Linked DNA regions of Homo sapiens: region 2 is linked to region 1. Evidence: promoter capture Hi-C in human tissues and cell types (Jung and others, 2019). All regions are on one chromosome and are shown on one strand. The core of a region is centred on a gene start or on the middle of the fragment in contact, and the rest is flanking DNA. Distances in the headings are between cores, read along the strand shown.

Evidence for each region. The method cuts DNA at HindIII sites, captures the fragments that hold promoters and counts their contacts. A contact is called where the count stands out against the background at its distance.
Region 2: a contact is called between a fragment that was not itself captured here and the fragment with the promoter of RORC in region 1, in 1 of the 25 tissues and cell types used here (IMR-90 fibroblasts).

Annotation. Positions count from the first base shown.
Region 1 is chr1:151,830,109-151,833,564 of GRCh38, reverse strand. It overlaps RORC (RAR related orphan receptor C), which reads left to right and starts at 1,763. Exons shown (of 11, transcript NM_005060.4): 1 at 1,763-1,840. The coding sequence starts at 1,801. RefSeq lists an enhancer at 2,455-3,142. The HindIII fragment of the contact is 16,173 bases long and covers 1-3,456 here.
Region 2 is chr1:151,986,625-151,990,080 of GRCh38, reverse strand. The region is part of intron 1 of S100A10 (S100 calcium binding protein A10); the gene reads left to right. Among named protein-coding and RNA genes, the nearest start is that of S100A10, 5.5 kb to the left of the region's middle. The HindIII fragment of the contact is 5,250 bases long and covers 1-3,456 here.

The DNA.
Region 1 (3,456 bases), core at 514-3,013:
GCAATTGGTGGGTTGTAGAAGAGGTAGTCACGAAGGGCCCCTGGGAGACCCAGAGTCAAGAGGAAGAGAGGCCTAAAAAGGAGAAAAGATAGAGAGGGGACAGCTGGAGAAGAGCCACAGACAGGCAGGAGCCAGCAAAGAGAGACAGAGAGATGGGGGATAACTGAGGAGTTCTGGGGAGGAGGGGAGCAGAACGGCATCTCCCCTGCACTCCCACGCCCGGCATGTTGCTGGCTCCTCCTGTCAGCTGGAGGGTGCTGGGGGGGCGGGGGGGAAGGGAGCTGCAAAGCACTTTACCTCTCACTCCAAACCTGCCCAAGGTGCAGAGCCCCCAAACAGACCAACATCCTGTTCTGTGCAGAGATGCATACATGGATGCGTGGGCCCACATTTACCAAAAGAACACGGGGGATAATCAGAGCCTCAGAGGCATAGGCACATACCCTTAGACTCAGTGCAGAAGGTCCCCAAAACTTCCCCTCCTCTTTCTCACTACTCATCCACTGTCAATGACCCTAGGAGTTGAAAAGTCCTTCTCCACTTCTACCTTTATCTCTCAATCTGCAGCCATGGGGAGACTCTGGGAGCTACCTAAGAACAGAGGTGCTGATGGTAGCAGAGTGTGAAGCTCCAGGGTTGGGCAGGAGTGGAGGATGGCGAGACGAGACGGCAGAAGAGGGAAGGGACAGCTGCTTGCCCTCTCCATGCCAGGTGCCACGTGCACCAGGTGGGGGGGAGTGGGCGAGTCACGAGGCTGTGGCATGGCTGACTCCTGCTCTGCTGTTTACCAGCTGGGAACGAGAGCAGGAGGAGGTGCCAGGGAGCCTCTTGCTGCAGCCTGGCCCCTGGCCAGTTGCTTGTTGGGTAACCAGGAGAGTCAGGCCCAGCTAATCAAACTCTGGGCCCAGGCCATGCAGGAGAAAAGCAGCACCAGGATCCCCAGAAGCCTCGTCCTCTTGGCCCCCTTCAGAGCCTTCACTGCAGGCCTCAGTGTGGGCCACTAGGTCTGGGAGCCTCTCCTTCTCCCAATGAGTCCAGTGCAGCATCTCTCCTCTCCTCTTCCCCACCATGGCTTCTCTGCCTCCAGGCACTCCTCCAGGCCTGCCCCTTGCCCCAACAGATGAGGAGCACGTAGAAGCATCAGGGGGTCAGGGAGTCCTGGCAAGAGCAGCAAGGGTTAGGGGCAGGGGCCGAGCAGGCAGAGGCCTCAGGGAACTGAACAGTCACTGGGAGGAGTCTGACTGCATCCTAGAGAAGAGACACAGTCCCCCAAACCTGCCCTCTCCATCTCCCCTATGCCTGTCACCTGTCTTAGGTAGAAATCACAGGATTCTAAAGTCACAAAGACTTGGGTCCAAATCATAGCTCACCCATTTATTGTTCTTGTGTGAGTCCTTGGGCAAAATCATTAATATCTCTGAGAATCCCTCCACTCACTGATCAATCTGGAATAATAATGTTTCCCTGTGGTGGGTGCTGTGAATATTTACACAAAGTAAAAGCATGGATTTACATAAAGTGTCCTGCAAAGGGCCCAGCACACAGTAAGTGATTAATAAATGCTAGTTCCCTTCCTTTCTCCTGTCCTGTTTCTCCTCAAGGCTCCATGCACTGGTCCACTGGTCTCTCCTCATGTCCCCTCCTGGTGCCAGGACACTCTGCCAGCCACTCCTTTTCCCTGCCTGCTGGAGGGCCAGGTGCTCCCGCCTTCCACCCTCCGCCCTCCTCCCTCCCCTGGGCCCTGCTCCCTGCCCTCCTGGGCAGCCAGGGCAGCCAGGACGGCACCAAGGGAGCTGCCCCATGGACAGGGCCCCACAGAGACAGCACCGAGCCTCACGGGGTAAGAGGCCCATGGCCCTGCCTGCAGGTGGAAGAGACTGCTGGAGGTTCAGAGGAGGGCAGAAATGGCAAGAGACTGGGCAAGAAGTGAGGAGGGGAGGGAGGGACAAGAGTGCAGAGGAGAAAGCCCTGGGTTGGCAGGGAGTGAAACTGGAGGAGAAACAGGAGGAGGGGCTGGGGAGATGACAGAGGAGAAGAAATCGCAAAAGGAGAGAAACAGGAAAGAAAGGGAGAAGCGGGAGAAGGAAGAAACAGGTTGGAGGGTAGATGGGGAGGGAAGAGCCAAGTCAGGGGAGCCAGATCTAGACCCAGCGAGGGGTCAGAATGTGGACAGGCCCTCCCAGGTGTGGGCTTACCCCCCAGGAGGCACAGGGACACTGCTTCCTTGATCTGGCCAGGACCCCAGACAGCAGTGGCCGGGAGGCTGGCTGCTCCACCTTCTGTTCATTCACCAGTGGAGAAACCTGTCCTTTAAGGAGTGACAGACTTGGGGAGTGTGGCAGGGGGAACCACACCCTGTCAGCTGCCCATGACCACGTAGCCTGGTCCTTTCCTCGCCACTCACCCAGGGATGTGGGATTTCATCTCTGCAGAGAATGTGGGGCACTGGGCCATCAGCAGGGAAGGACAGAATGTCAGGCCGTCCTTGGCCCCACCCATGGTCCAAGTCAGGAACCCCCTCAGAGCAGGATCGCAGGGCCACAGGCTTGGTCAGCTGTGAGCATGGAGGAGGAAAGTTTGAGGGCCAGAGCCACCAAGCTCCAGGGCCACCTGGTGGAGGAAGAACTGGCTGCCTGGGTGAGCAAGGGGAGCACCCCCACCACAGGACTGCTCTGAGGTGCAAGGCTAGAGGCCAGGAGCCGGTGCCACGTCAGGGAGGAAGCTGGGTGGGGCCAGGCAGGAGCAAGGGGAGGTGGGCGGGGCTGGGTGGGGCCTTGCCACCTCGGGGCAGTCTTTTCTCCTCCCTCACCCCAGCAGAGCCCAGGCCATCAGGCCACTCGCCTCCACACAGCCTAGTGACCACGGCCTGCCAGTGGGGAGCATCTCCCGGGCAGAAGGGCACTGTGTGTGTGTGTGTGTGTGTGTGTGTGTGTGTGTGTGTGTATGTCAGGTGTCAAGACTGAACAGCAGAAGGAAAAAAATAACAGAATAGAGTCAGAGGTTAGGGAAGCTATAGGGGGTATAGGGCATGGTTGAAGGGCTTTCTGAGACAAAAGACTGGCCATGTGTTCTGTGATGAGCTGCTATGTGGATGTAGGAAATGGGCCAAGGTCTGGCAGGGGAATCCTCTTTCCAGGGGCTCCCTGGCTAGGTGTTTCATAGATGTTAACTGCATGAATGGGTGACACCCCCCCACCCACCAACCATGCTCCAGCTAAGGCCCTCCCCTCAACGGCTGCTCCCCCTGGAGGTCCGAGTATCCATGTGACCCCCATCGACCCACTCATGCTCCCTACTGCCCAATCTCCACCCAGACCCGGCCACGCAGCAGCAGCAGAGAAGGGAGGCCTTCCTCTTCAGGCTGGTAGGCCAGGGAAGCCTGGCCCGTGGAAGCCAGAGAGGGGTCTGTATTTGCAACTCTCCCCTCCTCTTCCTCCAAACATCCTCTCCCCCTAC
Region 2 (3,456 bases), core at 304-2,803, 160 kb before region 1:
GGGATTGTGTGGTTCATTTATGCACATAACAGTTATATAGTGCTCCATGAATAAAAGCAGAATAATTTGTAGTTCTTAATCAAGAGAAGCTTAAATCTCAGGCAGACAAGTAAACAATTAAATGAAATTGAATGTTTCAGGTGCAAGAGTACGTTATTGGGGATAGAGAGGACACTGCAGCCCCTCAGCCCCAGCCCCAAGGCCCTCCTGTCAAAATGTGTCTAACCAGGATGCAGGAAGCCCACATCTGTCCAGGAATAGAGCTTGCAGAGTGGCTACGTGAGGGTGGAAATGCCAGATTGAAGTCCCTGAAGAACTTCAGTTTTGGCAGCTAGCAGTGCTGCAGACAGCCCTGCCCAGGCAAGCCCCACCCAAGAACGGAGGGCCAGGCAGGGCTGACTCAGTTGGGCAACCATTGGCTGCACTCAGACAAGAGTTACATGATTCATCCTCTAGCCAAGAGAACAGAGTTTTAATCACAACATTTCCCCCTTTCCTTTGTCTTATTTTAAAGCCAGTGTGCAACTCCTTCCCCAAAACAGAGTTCCTTGCTGTGGCCCTGGTCAGTGCCCTTTGGGGTACTGGTTGCTGAGGAGACAAGGGCTTCTCCACTGATTTTCAATGCTATTTTCACCTCCTGGCTACTCCCTCCTCTGCATCCTTATTGCAGAAGGCCTACTGGACACACAGGGAGTCAGCTGGCTGCAATATTCACAATCCATCCACTGAATAAAACCGCTGGGGGAGGAGGGGAGGGGAAGACCAAGTGGGAGAAGGATGTAACTTCAGAGAAGGAAGCTCCGTCACTTCGTAATGGCTGTGGGCAAGAGAGGCATGCGACTGAGTGACTTCAGACCTAAGCACTCACACAGTGTGAGGTAGACTCACCTTGCTCTCCTGAAGAAGATACTCAAGGGTGGCCAGGATTTCCTCAGCTGACAACTTGTATTTCTTAGAACCTCCTAAAATTAGCCTTTTTAAAATTTAGAGGTCCTTACCCTGCTGCATTCCCTTTCTTAATTCTGCACTTTCCTTCTGTCCTGTCATCTGAAAAAAGTAAACTAGGTACCCCACCCAGTTCCAATTTCTGGGATCTTTGGGAATTGATCCTGAAGTGCTCTGCTGCTCTGAACTTGAGCACAGGTATTTTTAAACCTCTGTGGTGTCTGACTCCTTTCCTGAGTTATTTAAGAACTGGGGTGGGATCCCACGTCCTTCTCCCAGAGGTGACTCGCCCAGTTCAGTTCTCTTAAATTGCTGGACTTGGAGTACCAGTCCAGGCAAGGCAGACTCTCTGTAAGCCCACTGCCATCTGAAACCCATATGAGGGATGGGGGATGAGCCAGATCTGAGCTGTGTCAGAAGAGAAGGAAAAGGGTGTGGTTCCCCTGGAATTCATCTCACAGCAGACCTTGAAGCATTAATTTGCAGCTCTCTCCAAGATAACTAACTGCCTTTCAGATGACTCATGCCAGATTCTGATTTATAGCATTCTTTGGCCTGCTGGTTCCCATACTTTTCTGGAGATTAAGGGGTAGAATTTACAATTCTTAAGTGTTAATTGCTCAATCCTCATGTTTACCCACTCCACCTTCTCCTCTGTAAAAGATAGCATTTGAGAATCAGTGTTGAACAGGCATCTCTCAGAGATAGGAACCAGACCAAAGCATGTCTCAGGTTCCCATTAGAGCTCTTCAGCAGAGGAATTTGCCAGCCCTTCAATCTAAGCTCAAAGCCTATTCTTGTGATTATTTATTTTTATTTTTTAGTGCTATATTACAGTCTCCATTCACGTTCACCTGTTTCCTATCCAGTAGTGATTTTAGGTGATATTAGCCAAAGCTTATCTGTTCTCGCCAAATGATTCCTTCCAATTAAGCCAAAATTCACTGAGGTTCTATTAAGTACCACGTACTGGGTCTTGTGAGACATATACCCCTAGTTCATTATACCCAAATGTAATGATCTGACATGTTTCCTTTCCTTTCTTATAAACGCTTCATGATGAAAGCTCTTGCTTTCCCACTGTACCCCAGACTGTGAGAGCAGCTCATCTGTCTAATGTCACTAAAAACATAGGAGGCCCTCAAATGAGTTAGGTTATAGTATTACTTGTTGCTTCTCAAGTGAACTAGACAATGGACTTTGAGTAGTTTTCTGTTTGGGTAGAGCAACTGTATTTTACTGCCAGAGATGCAACTGTCTTTATTGCAGTAAATAACAAGTTCAGAGCTTTAGTAAAGAATACATATAGGCCGGGCATAGTGGCTCACGCCTGTAATCCCAGCACTTTGGGAGGCCGAGGTGGGCGGATCACGAGGTCAGGAGATCGAGACCACGGTGAAACCCCATCTCTACTAAAAATACAAAAAAATTAGTCGGGCGCGGTGGCGGGCACCTGTAGTCCCAGCTACTCGGGAGGCTGAGGCAGGAGAATGCCGTGAATCCAGGAAGCGGAGCTTGCAGCGAGCCGAGATGGCGCCACTGCACTCCAGCCTGGGCAACAGAGCAAGACTCCGTCTCAAAAAAAAAAAAAAAAAAAGAATACATATATACCCAGCAGATAAATTCATTTGTAAGCAGATTTCTAAACCCTAGAATCACACTGAACCAAGTTACCACTTTAAGCTTAGAAGGGTGAAGTTTTCGTATTTACCAGACTTGACTGTGTGGATTGTTAGTATCAGCCATATCTAAGAATCCCATTTACTAGTGCCAAGAGAAATTATGAACTATCTGTTCTTTCAGTAGGTGCTTTGTCAGTTAAAAAGAGGAACACTGGGCCGGGCGCAGTGGCCTGTAATCCCAGCACTTTGGGAGGCCGAGGTGGGCGGATCACCTGAAGTCAGGAGTTTGAGACCAGCCTGCTCAACATGGCAAAACTCCGCCTCTACTAAAAATACAAAAAATTAGCCGGACATGGTGGCGGACGCCTGTAATCCCAGCTACCTGGGAGGCGGAGGTTGCAGTGAGCCAAGATCACAACACTGCACTCCAGCCTGGGCAACAAGAGCAAAGCTCCGTCTCAAAAAAAAAAAAAAAAAAAAAAAAAAGAGGAACACTGATGTTGCTTTTCTAAATTATTAGTTTCTATTCTTCATTAGATTATTCATGCAAATTAGCTGGAGTTAGCTAAACCCCTTTATTTACAGCACCAGTATCTGAGGTGTCTATTTCTACCAACAAGGGACCCAAACTGGGGTGGACTGGTTCTTAGATTCATTCACTGAATTTTAAAGCTGGAGAAGATCAGATGGATGATCTAATCTCCATCTTTCCAATTATCCTAAAAAGGCTGGCAATACATATGGCTTAAAAGTTAATGTAAATCTACAAAGATGAACCTGGAGGACGTTACGCTTAGTGAAATAAGCCAAGCACAGAAAGACAATTACCAGATGATCTCACTCATGTGGAATCTTAAACACTGAATTTCATAGAACTAAAGAATAGAAT